Linked DNA regions of Homo sapiens: all the other regions are linked to region 4. The links are contacts of gene promoters, found by promoter capture Hi-C in blood cells and fetal thymus (Javierre and others, 2016). All regions are on one chromosome and are shown on one strand. The core of a region is centred on a gene start or on the middle of the fragment in contact, and the rest is flanking DNA. Distances in the headings are between cores, read along the strand shown.

Evidence for each region. Contacts are between HindIII fragments. The CHiCAGO score rates a contact against its expected background, and 5 or more counts as called.
Region 1: a contact is called between a fragment that was not itself captured here and the fragment with the promoter of C3orf70 in region 4, in 1 of 17 cell types (endothelial precursors). The highest score is 5.8, in endothelial precursors.
Region 2: a contact is called between a fragment that was not itself captured here and the fragment with the promoter of C3orf70 in region 4, in 2 of 17 cell types (endothelial precursors and erythroblasts). The highest score is 8.8, in endothelial precursors.
Region 3: a fragment that was not itself captured here is called in contact with the fragment with the promoter of C3orf70 in region 4 in 1 of 17 cell types (endothelial precursors); the score reaches 6.6 in endothelial precursors.

What each region holds. Positions count from the first base shown.
Region 1 is chr3:184,955,915-184,959,422 of GRCh38, reverse strand. VPS8 (VPS8 subunit of CORVET complex) reads right to left here. Exons shown (of 48, transcript NM_001009921.3): 37 at 1,902-2,049. Among named protein-coding and RNA genes, the nearest start is that of VPS8, 150 kb to the right of the region's middle. The HindIII fragment of the contact is 2,259 bases long and covers 1,000-3,258 here.
Region 2 is chr3:184,911,383-184,914,790 of GRCh38, reverse strand. VPS8 (VPS8 subunit of CORVET complex) reads right to left here. Exons shown (of 48, transcript NM_001009921.3): 26 at 1,230-1,272. Among named protein-coding and RNA genes, the nearest start is that of VPS8, 100 kb to the right of the region's middle. RefSeq lists an enhancer at 2,184-2,747. The HindIII fragment of the contact is 1,830 bases long and covers 449-2,278 here.
Region 3 is chr3:184,927,144-184,930,739 of GRCh38, reverse strand. VPS8 (VPS8 subunit of CORVET complex) reads right to left here. Exons shown (of 48, transcript NM_001009921.3): 32 at 2,207-2,289; 33 at 1,076-1,160; 34 at 172-270. Among named protein-coding and RNA genes, the nearest start is that of VPS8, 120 kb to the right of the region's middle. The HindIII fragment of the contact is 5,283 bases long and covers 1-3,596 here.
Region 4 is chr3:185,151,489-185,154,876 of GRCh38, reverse strand. It overlaps C3orf70 (chromosome 3 open reading frame 70), which reads left to right and starts at 1,817. Exons shown (of 2, transcript NM_001025266.3): 1 at 1,817-2,249. The coding sequence starts at 2,054. RefSeq lists an enhancer at 1,632-1,771 and a silencer at 2,192-2,411. The HindIII fragment of the contact is 2,735 bases long and covers 179-2,913 here.

The DNA of each region.
Region 1 (3,508 bases), core at 880-3,379, 200 kb after region 4:
TGAATATTCATATTCTATGGCAATATAGTTATTTTCATGAGTTCAGTAAGAATTTGCTCTGTTTGTAGCAGAAAAATTGGAAACATGGGTTATATTACCAAGGCTTTGACTGGGATGTCATTATTTTTAGATATAACCAGACTCCTTTAAGAAACTAAGCTTAACTTTAAGGAGGCAATAAAGGCCTTGGAAAAACTGGCCTGGTACCTTGTCAAGATGGTGTGCTTACAGGGTTCCTAGCCTGGCAGTAAGTAAAGAATGTCACTTCCTGAGAAGCCCAGGAACTTCAGAATATTTGGGGGCCTCAAGAAAAGAGTATACCCAGGTACTACAGGTAAAATCTGATGATGGCAAGCCCATGGCTTCGTTTCCCAGCCTGAAGACGAGAGACTTTTAAAGGTCTACTCTGAGATTTCTTGTAAGTTTCAGCAGAGGAGATTTTTAAAAAGCCTAAATGGCCAATCACTACTCTTGCAGTACTTATATAAATAATCAGGCCAAATATGACACTAAACTTATTTTACAAGTCAATTGAACTTACTCTGATTATTTTTGGTAAAAATGGGGGAACTGGAGAAAAAACTATTTCAGAAAAAAAAACTACAGTAAACATTATGAGATTCTAACTCACGGTTTTTGAGATTTTATTATTTACTTGCAATTTGACTAAATCTGAATTTTTAGTTTCCTCCAATATCTGACCAACTCTCCAAACTAGTATTTGAACATTTTCTCCCATTTTTCTGACTTGGAATCACTGAAATTAAAACTGCTTTTCCTGAAGCTCTGCACACTAAAGCTAGACAACTTGATATTAACTTTGGAGGAATCACCACAACTTATTTATGGACAGAAAGTTCACTGGAACACCTCATTCAAACGGCAATCCAGGAAAATCTGTCCGATTGCCATTTCCTACTTCCACCCCAACTATAGATACTTTAAACACAAATCTTGAAATATTCTCAGCTGGCTCCCCTCCAGACTGAGAGACAAGCTTAGAGACTGCTCCAAACATTAACTTTTGTTTCCTTTTTGTTTCTATAGAAATGTCTTTTATTAAATGCCTATGTGCCTATACCTTTGTCGGAAACACACTTACAACACCACCACCTCCTAAAATGAGATGCAACTATTTAACTAAACTGACCCATTTTCACAACCAAGAGATTGTTTCAATAAGGGACAATGTACCCGAATTTGTTCCTTTCCACTTGTTCCAATCTATGATTTTCTCCCCTCTGCCAATCTATTACGTCAAAACCACTAACCCAAATCTCTCCACAGTTACCCACCCGGCGTTTAATATGTGAAACTTTCTAAAAGTAAAGTTTCAAAGGGGGCACTGAACAAAACCAAAATATGTTTCCCCCAAATATTGAGGATTGTTAAGTTAAAGACAATGAAAATGCAGGGGAATCCTCTGCTCCCGCCTCTATCTGCCTGATAGCAGGACATACATTCTTTACTGGAGATAGCACTTGCTTATTGGCCCGGAGAAGGCACCAGCAGGCACGGGAGGAATCTGGGAACACAGCTGACTATCTTCCCATACATGTTTCCACCTTTTACTAGGCTGGAACTGCTCTCTCCTGTCTTGTCACTATGTAAGATTTAAGGCTCTTTGTTAAAATACAGTTTAAGCAAAGCCCCTAAGCCACTGCCTTGAGAAAGATACTTTTGAACTGAGGTCTCTCCTACATGATGGGTATAGCACATATCAATAAACCTCTGTTTTTCTTTTGTTAATCTGACTTTTGTTTTCAGGAGTATGTCTCAACTAAGAATTTATAAGGTTTAAAAAAGAAATTATATATTTTTTCCCCTTGTCTTTGATCATCTGTCAAATGGAGAATGTTAAGAAGAGTTTACTCTTGTCTCTTTTACATTGTTCGTCTCACCTGAATAGTTTCTTCCAGACGGTAGCACTCAAGGACTTGCAGAGTCTCTATAACTTGGGTTGGGTTGAACTGACACAACAGCTCAATGAACTGCTCTGTGATACAAGGAGATATTTGCAGTAATTCTTGATTTACATGAATACCTTCCCTAAAAACATAAAAGATAAAGAGAACACTCAATTGTAGCATTATTTAATCACATCTATAATTAAAAGCTACCAGTAAAAAGCACATTACATTAAAACTAGGACTACCTGCTGGTCAGATAAAAATATGAATTGAAAGTCTCAATGTTATTTAGGTTACTTGAGCAAACTGTACATTACATAAGAGGCATTGTAAGTTGTAATATTACTCAGGTTATGTTGAATAATTAAGGAAGTAACATTCAGTTGAAACTCTTCTAAATCATACCAAAAGTTGTGTTTTATTCTAAAAGAAACAAGAGCCACCCAATTTAGTCCTAATACTTTGATCTCTAAGTAACTATATATAACCATCTTCCAATCTCAGTAAGTGTTTCTTCTTTATATTCTTCATAGCACCAATCATATCACATTGCAATGACTTCTTTAATTATCTATCTTCTCTAAAACACTATAAATTCTGTGAGGGGTAGGTACCAGGTATCTTCTCAGTAGTAAATTTTTGAAGCTAACCAATGTCTTGCACATAGTGAGGACTAATTTTTTTGGTTATTGTTATAATAAATAAAGGAGTAATACTAAAATACACAATATTTATGGGTTCATTTGCCTAGTACACCAGCTACTCACATAGCCCGCTATTCACAATGCCTACACAAAAGTTTTGGAAGTAGAGTATTAACTGCATCATACTGGCCACTCAAGCACTCAACTACTGATGGCCGAAAGTAGCTGCTTAGGAAATCAACTGTTCATTGGAGACCTAAGAATCATCCTCTCTCTAGCTTCAAAAGAACTTAGTTCCTTCTGAGAGTCCTATCTTCTCTTCGGAATTCCTCAACTAAAGCTCATTATTATATAAATAACTGGAATACGGTTAATAAGATACAACAATGATTGCTTGGAAAACTAGCCCAGTTCTGAAGAAAGGTTAAAGCACATGGTCTAAAGAAGTAGTTTCCAGGTTTTCTCATATTGTGGCACACAGAAAATAAGATATTTGTTTGGTCCACTGTAGTGAAGTAAGATTGCTCACAAGGGACTCTGGTTGTCCCAAGAGCTGAGACAGTCTGCAGGCACACTTGTAACCATGTACAGTACATCAATAGCCACAGGGTGGGACTCTCTGGACTCCAGAAAGAACAATTTGGATTTTGTGATTATTCATAAGTGATGGTAAGTAGTGCTTCTACTTTTACTAATAAGAAGCTTGGGTCAAAGAAAAAGAGACTGTATTTAGACACAGGGCATTTTCCCTAATTTAAGAGCTTTGTGATACCAGAGGTGGGTAAACGATAAACTAAAAAAATTCTGCTGCTTGGAACTTTCAATACTTGCTGATGGGCTAATTCAGTATCTCCTCAAATTGGCTATAAATTCCAAAGAAAGAGTGTTCTTTTTTTTTTTTGTATCTTATAACTGCCTTTAATACAGAAGTTTGTTCAGTGACTGGCCATTCCC
Region 2 (3,408 bases), core at 114-2,613, 240 kb after region 4:
GGTGAGGTAATGCATCCTGTGACTGAGTGGGAGCTTTCGTTTCTTCGTATGTTTCCTAAGAAAAACCAATGCTCTATTAAAGGGGCAAGAAGGAATGAGGACAGACTTCTAAAGGCCTCATACCCAGCGTCTAGAAAGATGGTGCCTAATGGCACCATTATACTATGATTAATCTGTTAAAAGCCTGGCGTTCTCAGATACTGTTAAACCAGGGTCTCTAAGAATGGTATTAAAGATGGGGAAAGAGGCTAAATGTCTGGGAAGTCTGCGACAGGACAAACCGGGGAGAATTAGAATCTGAAGAGAAATTCACCCTACAGTTTTACCTCCAAATCAAACCTTCTTCATGGCTAAAGACTTGCCTTGTGAGCTGAATTACTACAAATGTCATCTGAACATGTCTACCTTTTTTCTATTTTTTGGCGGGGAGGGAGCAAATTTTAAAGCTTTTTAAACTACAATTTTCAATGTTAGACTGGAGACAACTGGACACCAGCATATCCTGAAGAGTTTAAGGTACAGATGATAAAGCACTAAGTAAATGCGTATTTCTTTCACACTAAAGAATCAATGTAACAAGTGTGAAACAGGTTTCAAAGTTAACTCTGACATTAGATATGAGCTCAAATGATGTTCTGCTAGGTTCTGCCACCTTCCTGACAAATAGTCATCTACCGAAAAGTTCTATCAGGGCTCAATTCTGAGCTGGCATAGTCTACTAGAATGAACCCTGCTCCAGGAGTCAGGAGATAAACATTCTAGTTTTACCTCTGTTACTAACTTTTTCATGATTTGAACAAGTCTCTTGCCCTCATATGTAGAAACAATACACATCCCACATAGGTGTCACTAGTAAACATAAAAAACCCGGGTTTCAACACCAAGGTTTCTCAACCTCAGCCCTACTGATACTTCGGGCCAGATAATTCTTTGTTGTGCTATTCTGTGCATTGTATGATGCTTAGCAGCATCCTTGGCCTCTGCCCACTAGATACCAGTAGCATCCCTTCTCTAGCCCCAGTTATAACAACCAAAAATGTCTCTAGATGTTGCCAAACATCTCCAGGGAGTAGGAGACAAAATTATCCATGGTTGAGAACCACTGCTCTACATAAAAGAATTGTGCAAAATTAAAAGTACTATATAGATAAGAGATCATAGTATCTCTAAAAATATAGGAAAAATATAGAAAGAACATACATGCAGATGAATAAATAAAACAATCTTACCTAATATATACAAGGAGCTTATTGCCCATAACAACTTGTTCATCTAAAATAGAAAGAGAAGTATCTTCAGCAATTTTCTCTCAAAACCTTTTCAGAAAAATAATCTTTATGTAGAAACAAAAAAATAAAACTTGGCATTTAAGGTGAGGTAAGTATATTCCCAAATAACAGGAAGTTAAGACCACTTTATTGGCTTTTGAGTTTCCATTAGATTCTTGTCACAGACACAAGAGCAATATAAGCTACCCTAAGATAGATGTAGAAGGAATAGATCTGAGGGTAGAGATCTATGTACTGTTGGCCTAACTAACTTGGGGCCAAGGGAAGGTGTAGGGCAGGCAATGAGCTGATGAACTGTACATCAGAACCAATTAATTAGTGTTAAGGCATAACCATACTGTCTTCTTATTTGTAATATGGACTTTTACCACCTACCGTGCTCTAGGGCTGAAAAGGCCATTGTTCCCAAATGTTTAAAGTAACAGAACTAAACTAAATGATCTTTAGGGCCCTTTCTATTCTAAGTTACATAAAAAATGTAAGATTCTGCCATCTTGTGATACGAGCCTGTTCTCTGACTAAAGAAATCAGAAAGATAATATGACAAAGTTTGAAGCCAAGGGGTCAAGGGCAATACAGAATGGAGCAGGAGCATCAACAGGGTGAAGTGACTGGGAACGCCCACAGCGCACAGATGATGGGAATCTGTGGTTGGCAATAATGAAGAGCTGGAGTTTCTATTTTTGGTAATATGAATACTGGACATAATGCAAGCAAGTGTATGCCTTTATCAGTAATCTTTCACAAATACTCAAAATCTGTGATGTTGTTAGTGCATGTAAACATGAATTGCTCCAAATGTATGAATAACTACATTTTGCTTCCATTCCAAATGTCATTTGATTCACATCAACTCGTATGACACATGGTGATCACCACCTGCATGGCATAACAACTTAATGTTTATTGGCTAACTAGATAAACACGAGTGAAAGAAAAATAAAGTCTCAGAATCCCAAACTCACTATGCCAAAAGGAAAAGTTAAGCTTCGGAATTGAGTCATGTAAAAAACAAAAACAAAAACAAACAAACGAAAATCCTGGCTACCTTTGGTTCCTAAACAGATTGCTGCAAGATAGAAGGCCATGTCTCCCCAGCTGGCCTCCCTCACCCTGACAATGTAAATTAATAGCTGATCTTCACAGGCACTGGACAAAGATAAGACTATAAATTATTCCTCAGCCCATCCCAAGACAAATGCATATTTGACTTCTTCCTCTATTCTATGTTTACTTTACTGTTGTACCTGAGCGAGTTAGAAAAACGCCACACTTTGAGACGAATTAAGAGTCTTTTATTCAGCCGGCAGCCAAAGAGAAGGCTAACGCTCAAAATTCTCTCGGCCCCGAGGAAGGGGCTTAACTTTTATACTTTGGTTTAGAAAGGGGAGGGGAGCTTAAATGCAACAACTCTTCAGAAGTAAAAACATGCAAAAAAATTAAAAGGACGAATGGTTACAGGGAAACAAACAATTTAAAAGACAAATGGTTACAAAAAAAGCAAGGTACCAGGTGCGGGGCTCTAAATCCTTCATAAGAGTTAGATATGGGCACTACGCCGGACACAAACTGAAGGCTTTATGGTGTTATCTTTTGAGCAAAATGCTGGGAACTTCATACATGGTTTGTTCCAGTACCTTATCAGTTAACTGGACTCCTTTGATATGTTGACAATCTGCTTACACAGGTTAACTCCTTGAGGAAAGAGGGGTGGGTAAGGAGTCCTTAATGTCTTGTAAATCAAGGGGGCCAGATGGAGCTCGTCCAGCTTTCTCAGCTAAGGGAGTCTATTCATGTGGAAACAAGGCTAGGTGATTACGAGAGCAAAAGGGAGAGTCTAAAAACAGGGTTAGTGAAAACAAGGTTGGGCATTACATTACCTTCTGTAAAATGCAGATTCACTGAGCATGAGACAAATGCATAATTAACTGTTCCTCTTTTCCCTCTTGCCCACTCTCTACCCTTTAAACACTGAAGTTCTCAAAACCCTCTGTGGAAAAAGCACAGGCCGAAGATCCTACTGTAGCTTGTGTATGTTTCTCCTAGTGTGTCCTCAACCTTGGTAAAATAAACCTCTAAATTGAGACTTGTCTCAGACATTTTTTGATTTACACACCTT
Region 3 (3,596 bases), core at 16-2,515, 220 kb after region 4:
TGACACAGACTTTATGAATACAAATATGAGGTAGAATAATTACACGAAAAAGATTTCAACCCTAAATTAAATCAACTTAATATGATACATGCCATTGCTTCGTTGGCATAAAGTTAACTTGGGTTAGATGATCGTTCAGATGGTGAAGTGTGAAGTTTTGCGCATCAGTACCTCAATATGATCCATTGCTTTCTGCCATACAGACTGCTTCTCCTCTGCACTGTGTCCGGGAATGGATAAGATATTGTGAATGTAATTAAAGACTTCTTCCTGAAGAGCACAAGACAATATAATTTATTCATTCACTCACTCAAGATTTAGTCCCTACCAACTGAACCAGTCTTGGTAAACATCTATTATCTGAAGATGAAAAATTATCTGGAGATAGTTAACTGATGGAAAACTCTGTCCCTAAAAATAAAGAGTAATTGTTTAAAATTTAGGGTAGACTCTTAGAAGCAAAAAATCAGTTCTAATTAATTTTGGTTTGAATTTATTAATCTTCAGTGACCTAATGAAGGAGTATCACACTTTGGCTTTTGGGGATCCCATTGTCCACATTCCCAATTTCAGCAGAAACCACTCCTGCCCTTGTCTATTATGCTCCACCTATACTGATTTTCACTTCATCTATATGATCTCTACTCAGCTCCTTGAACATGTCAATTTTCCCCACCTCAGGTCTCTTGCATATACAGTTACCCATCCTGGAACACTCTTCTTGGCTCTTTCCTTCACTGGCTTCTCAAATTCCAAAACTCAGTTTATATGTCACTTTCTCTGAAATTCCTTCCCTGGCTACTCTGTGTAAGTCAGTTCCCCATCATCCTCTAAAGTAGCACTCGGTTTCTCTTCCCTAGCATTTATCCCAATTTGTAATCATATTTGACTTTGTTTACTGTCAGTTTCCATCACTAAATTATACATTCCAAAACTGCAAGAACTGTATCTGTTTTAATTATCAATGTGTATTTGGCTCATACACATGCGCAAATATTTCTACTCAACAGTTATTTGTACTCAATAAGAGGGAAAGTTGAGTAAGAAAAAAGAGTAAAGCAGTATCTTGACTCACCTCTCGCAGAGGGTCACGTAAGTAGCAATCAATAATTTTATCATATTGGTGTTCTCTTTCATACATAAATTCACAAATTTGATAGCTAGAATGTAAAGGGAAAAACTTCAGTGTACCAAACAGGGAGGTTTTTGAGACATTTGCTCTGGCACACAGGTTAGTATTAGGAAAAGTGGGCCAGGTGTCCTGGCTCATGCTTATAATCCAAGCACTTTGGGAGGCTGAGGCAAGAGGACTGCTTGAGACCAGGAGTTTGAGATCAGCCTGGGCAGCATAGCAAGACCCCGTCTCTACAAAAAAACTAAAAGCCAGGTATGGTGGCATGTGCCTGTCATCTGAGCTACTACGGAAGCTGAGGCAGGAGGATTGCTTGAGACCAGGAGGTTAAGGCTACAGTGAGCTATGATCGCACCACTGCACTCCAGCCTGGTCAACAGAGGGAGACTTTGTCTCAAAAGAAAAAAAAGAAAAATTAATATAGTAGATGTGATTTCTATTGTTAAATAAAGTTACAGTGAATAACTAAGGGAGATGAGTATTTGCCGTTAACCTTTAACTATAGGTTCAAGAGGCTGCTAAATATTATGTTTATAAAAAATTTCAATGCTGAATACAAAGGAAATACTAAAACAATAGTGTATCACATAAGAAATAGTGAATATGTTAGATATTAATTGATAATTTACAAAAATTTTACATAAAGTTCCTCTGTTCAGAATTACATGTCATATAAATACAGCATACTAGGTAAGTAGCAATGTGATCATATCATCTTATTTACTACGTCAAATACTGCATTGTCTCTAATATATCTAAGATAACCATCAACAATTTATGAAACATGGAAATATTAAAGAAAAAATCTAAAATAATAAAACATCATAAGACTATTTCACTTTATGTTTAAACAATTATATAAAAGTTTCATATCTGCCCTATCAATTTCTGCAAATTTTACTAATTTCTAGAATTCAATTAAAAGGGAAAAATTTTCACCCTTAGCTTTTTGTTATTTGTATAATCTTTCCTAATTAAAAAAGCAGCAATGTATCAATAAACTGAGCTTTAAGTTAAAGAAATATAATTTAATATTTCTATGGCAAACTAATATACAGCCTCAAAACAACTTACAACTCAGCTTTTTCTGCCATCCGGATGAGTCGACTCTCTTCAAATTGAACTATGCCTCCAGCCTGCAGCAATTCTAAAAGGACCTGAGTATTTACAATAAATGAGTAAAAACACTTGAGAATTTACTAGCTCTTTAAGAGTGCATTCAGCCATGCAGACTATAACATTTAATTTTTTTCTTTTGTATTCTTAGTTGATGATATTTTGGCTTGCTGTCACATATGGAAGGGGTTAGACTGACATTATAAACTTGATCATACTGCATTTAAGCCCTATAAAAAGATAAATGGCTCTGCTTTCCAAACATGGAAAGAACGCCACAGTGTTTACAAATAAAGCCCTATTAGACATTGAGCTGACTCTCTGCTAAGCTAAAATGTCCATATATATCTTTCAAGAAGTGAATTTTTATCTCACTTTTATGTCTTACGGTTCTTTACAATCTGTCTATCCACAGCTGGTATCCATGTTTACATGTTAATTTTTTAAAAATTAAGTATTGGGGCTTTTCATAGCAGCACTATTCAAAATAGCCAAAGGGTGGAAACAATCCAAATGGCCCTCAGTGGATGAATGAATAAACAAAATGTAGTATATGCATACAACGGAATACTGTTCAGTAGGAAGAAAACCTGATACATGCATGCTGCGGCATGGATGAACCTTGAACACATTCTGCCAAGTGAAATAAGCTAAATACAAAAGAACGAGTATTGTGACTGCACTTACGTGAGGGACCTAAGGTAGTAAAATTCATAGAGACTGGTAGTTACTAAGGGCTGGGGAGGAGAAAACAGGGAGTGGGAGTTATGATTTAATTGGTATGGTAGTTCAGTTTGGGAAGATAAAAGAGTTCTGGGGATGGATGGTGATGAGGATTGTACAATGTGAATACCACTGATGTATACACTTAAAAATGGTTAAAATGGTAAATTATGTGTTACGTCTATTTTACCACAATAAAAAGCAAACAAAAATATTGGAGCTCATAGAATTAATTTTTACAACACTAAGCAGCTGAAATGAGGGGGCCCATATACTATTTGTATTCAATATAATTTAAGAGATAACCAAAATTTTACCAGCTGTTCTTTTACCTAGGATACTCTGCAGCAGTCACTGGGCCATAGCTGTGCGGATAAAGGGGTCACTGTTGCTATCCGATAGTCTCAACTTCCCAGCTGCGTATGATTACCACAGTGCCATAAAGCCATACTTCAGCACAGCTCTCATGGTACTTAATTTTAGTAGTTTACTTACCTGACAAAATCTGGCTATCAATACAAAATGGGTTGACTCTCTTAGTGCCCACAATTATGGTGGGTATGCTTTTTAAAGAATCCTACTCCTCAAGGCAACCTCAAGAAAGTGGCATGAACAGAAAGAAGTG
Region 4 (3,388 bases), core at 568-3,067:
TGATTCAGACCTTTCTGGAAAATACTTTTGCTGCCAAATTGAGTCTCTCCCCAATCCCTAATAAATGAAGATTTCACCAGAGTCAGATATATGCAAATTACATTTCCCTTCTCAAGCCAAGGTTACATAAAAGGGAAAATTATGAAAGATTGCTTATGGCAGCAAGGATTTTCAAGCTTGAGGATGAATTTGGTTGTTTCAAAACCATGATGAGTCTCTTGTCAGTGCAAAGCAGGAAAGGCATAAAGGAGAAAGTGGACCTGGGCATAAACATGTTCCCACACAGTGTTTGTGCTGAAAGCCTTGTTCCTTGAACAAGCATTCTTCTGTGCGTTTGGCAAATAAGGAGGGGGTGTCCCCTCCTCTTCTGTGTTCAAGGCTGGGTTCTGGCCTTGTTGCAGGGAAACACTAATTCCCAGCAGTGCACCATGGGAGCAAATGGTTTGTTTCCTCTTCAGTGAATCCAGCCTGGGGTCGGTTCTCAGCAGCAGAGCCTGGCATGGAAAATCTATTTGGAGCAACTTGTCCCCAGGAGGGAAGAGTGCGAGCCAACTGTGTGGGGAAGCCGCAGCCACCACAGGGTCAGTCACACCTGCTGGCCAGAGCAGGCGCTAACACAGAAAGGCAGAGTCCTCCGCATACATGAGTCCTGTTTGTGTGCCCACCCACTCCTATGTACCACACACACCCGATTTGATCCGTATATGCCATGTGCACACTCGACATGCCAGATACACGCACTGCACTGCCACACATATACCATACACACACCACTCTGTATTACTAAGCATACCCACCCCCACAACACGTGCACAAGCACATGCACGTCCAACTACACACATATACATATTCTGCACGCCACACACACTCAACCACACACACACCACCCACACTCCACCTCAGTTATAACATTCATTTCACATACACACGTATACACACACCTCACCAGTCACTTGCATCACGCATACCACCCACCATGTACCATGAACACACCTAACCACACACAACCACACACGCATACCCACCATACATACTCCAAATAATCATACACACGCACGCAACACACACATCCCATGCACACCAAACTACACATACGCAGACACACACACACATCAATGCACCCAGCTTTGTTGCTTTCCCGCTCAACGGAGGCGGGGGTGGGAGGAGAAGGGGGAGGGGCTGCGGTCCCGGCGAAGGTTGGGGCGGGCGCGGGAAGGCCCGGGCGCACTGGCCTGGGGTTTGGGGCGAGGCGGGCAGGGGTTGGCGGTGCTGGCCCCTGACGCGCCCTGTGGCCGCGCTGGGGCAGGAGGCCCGCCCTGGGTGGGGGGAGTGCGCGCGTGTGCACGAGCGTGTGCGCGCCTCCCAGGGGCTCCATGCCCAGACACGGGGAGGTGTGTACGAGGGAGATGTGAGACGCCTGTGGGGACAGGCTGTGTGTGTGAGATCCTCGCTACGCGATGCACCCGGCCCGGGCCACTAGGAGGTTCGGGTGGGCGTGGGCCAGGTGTGCGCAGCCCTCCGTGGAGCGTGTGGACGCGTGTGTCAGTTCTCGGTGGCCAGTGTCACTCGGGGGGAAGTGCATATGTAGGCTGGCGTGCATGTGAGTACAAAGCGGCCGAGGAGTGTGTGTTCACCACGGCCCTCCGTCGGGGTCTTTCTCCGAGGAAGGAGTGAGTATGTGAGGAGGACCTCGCTGTGACCGGCGGGGACGCCGACGGCCAAGCTCCCCAGCGGCGTGTGTGTGAGAAGGCCGGGCTCGCTGAGGAACGTCGCGCGGGGCCGACCGGCGCGCGCCTGTGCGCGTGCGTGTGCGCGTGGGGCGCGGCGCGCGCCGCGCCGGAGGGAGGGAGGCTGCCAGCCCGGACCCGGTCGCAGCGCCCGGGGCGGCTCCTCCTCGAGCCTGGGACCGCCGCGCTCCCGCCGCCGCCGCGTGCTGGCGTGACTCCCGGCCCGTGCCGCGCCCTCCCGCGTCCGCAGCCGGCTCGGCTTCCTGCCCACCCAGACGTCGCTTCTCCCGGGCTCCCGGTGTCGGCTCCGCGCGGAGGGAGAGGAAATGAGTGCGGCGGCCTCGCCGGCGTCGGAGCGGGGTTGGAAGAGCGAGAAACTAGATGAGGCTCAGGCCCTGGCGCGGAGTTGCGCCGCCCGCAGACCCGACTTCCAGCCGTGCGACGGGCTGTCTATCTGTGCCACGCACAGCCATGGCAAGTGCTTCAAGCTGCACTGGTGCTGTCACCTAGGATGGTGTCACTGTAAGTCGAGCCGCGTCTTCCCGCCTTCCGCCGCGGTCCGGGGGACGCCCGCCGGGCCGTCCGGGGTCGCTGCCGGAACTCTGCGGCCGCGGGGCTCCGGGCTCTGCCGGGGCTGCTCTGCCGGAGGCTGGGGCCGCCGTGGGCTCCGGGCCCGCCGGAGCTTTCCTTGCGCCGGACGGCTGGGGTTGGCGCTGCCTTGACGACGAGATGAAATCCCGTGGGGCGCCTCGCTTTCTTTAGCTACTTCTACAAAAGGGAGCTCCCTGTCCCAGGGAAGCGGGAATCTGGTTTTTTTTCTTTTCTTTTTCTTTTTTTGACCAAGGCGTCCAGGCGGTGTTTTGAGAAATGGGAGCGAGCCAGCTGAGTTGGCGACAGCTGTTGGGGATGCCTTTTTTCAAGGTTGCTGGTTAAAGATGCTCCTCTTTTTCTTTCTCACTTTTGTCTTCCTGGGCTGCTATTTAAAAGAAGGAGCCCTTGGATATCCAATTGTTTCCCCCTTGATTGTACCCAAATTGAGAAAAAGCGCTAATGTGGGAGGGATTGCTTCCAAGAAGTTAATATTAACAGTTTGGAAGGTCGAGCTCCTTAAATACCCAGATGTAGAATTTAGAGCCAAATAAATGAGACTTATAAAATTACAAAATAAAATGAGTGAAAGTAAGCTTAATAGTCTTAAACCAATTTATAAAAGCTAGAACCAAATGGTCTAAACCCTTTCTCTGTGTTTAGCCTCCTGCCTGTGATTTTTAAATAGATTAAACTTAAGTAGCCATTTAATTAGAATTTCACAATTTGATTAGCTAATAGTATTTGGACTATATCCGATGAATCATTCATTTTAAGAAATATATTCTAAAGTTAGTTTCCACATATATTTGTAATAGAGGGTTTTGGAGTGCTTATTTAGGACATTTTCCAAGTGATCTTAAGTTAAAATGAATTTTTCTTTGTTGAGAAAAAAATAGCTGACAACCAGGAATGCAGTACATAACAAATCCTTATTTACATTAATCGAACATAAATGAATATTTTAAATCGAATTTATGAATTCAAGGATAGAGGATCATTTTCTTTACAAATTCCAGGCACATAGAACAGTATTGATTTCTGGTGTTCCATTTGCTTATGGGCCAGTTTCT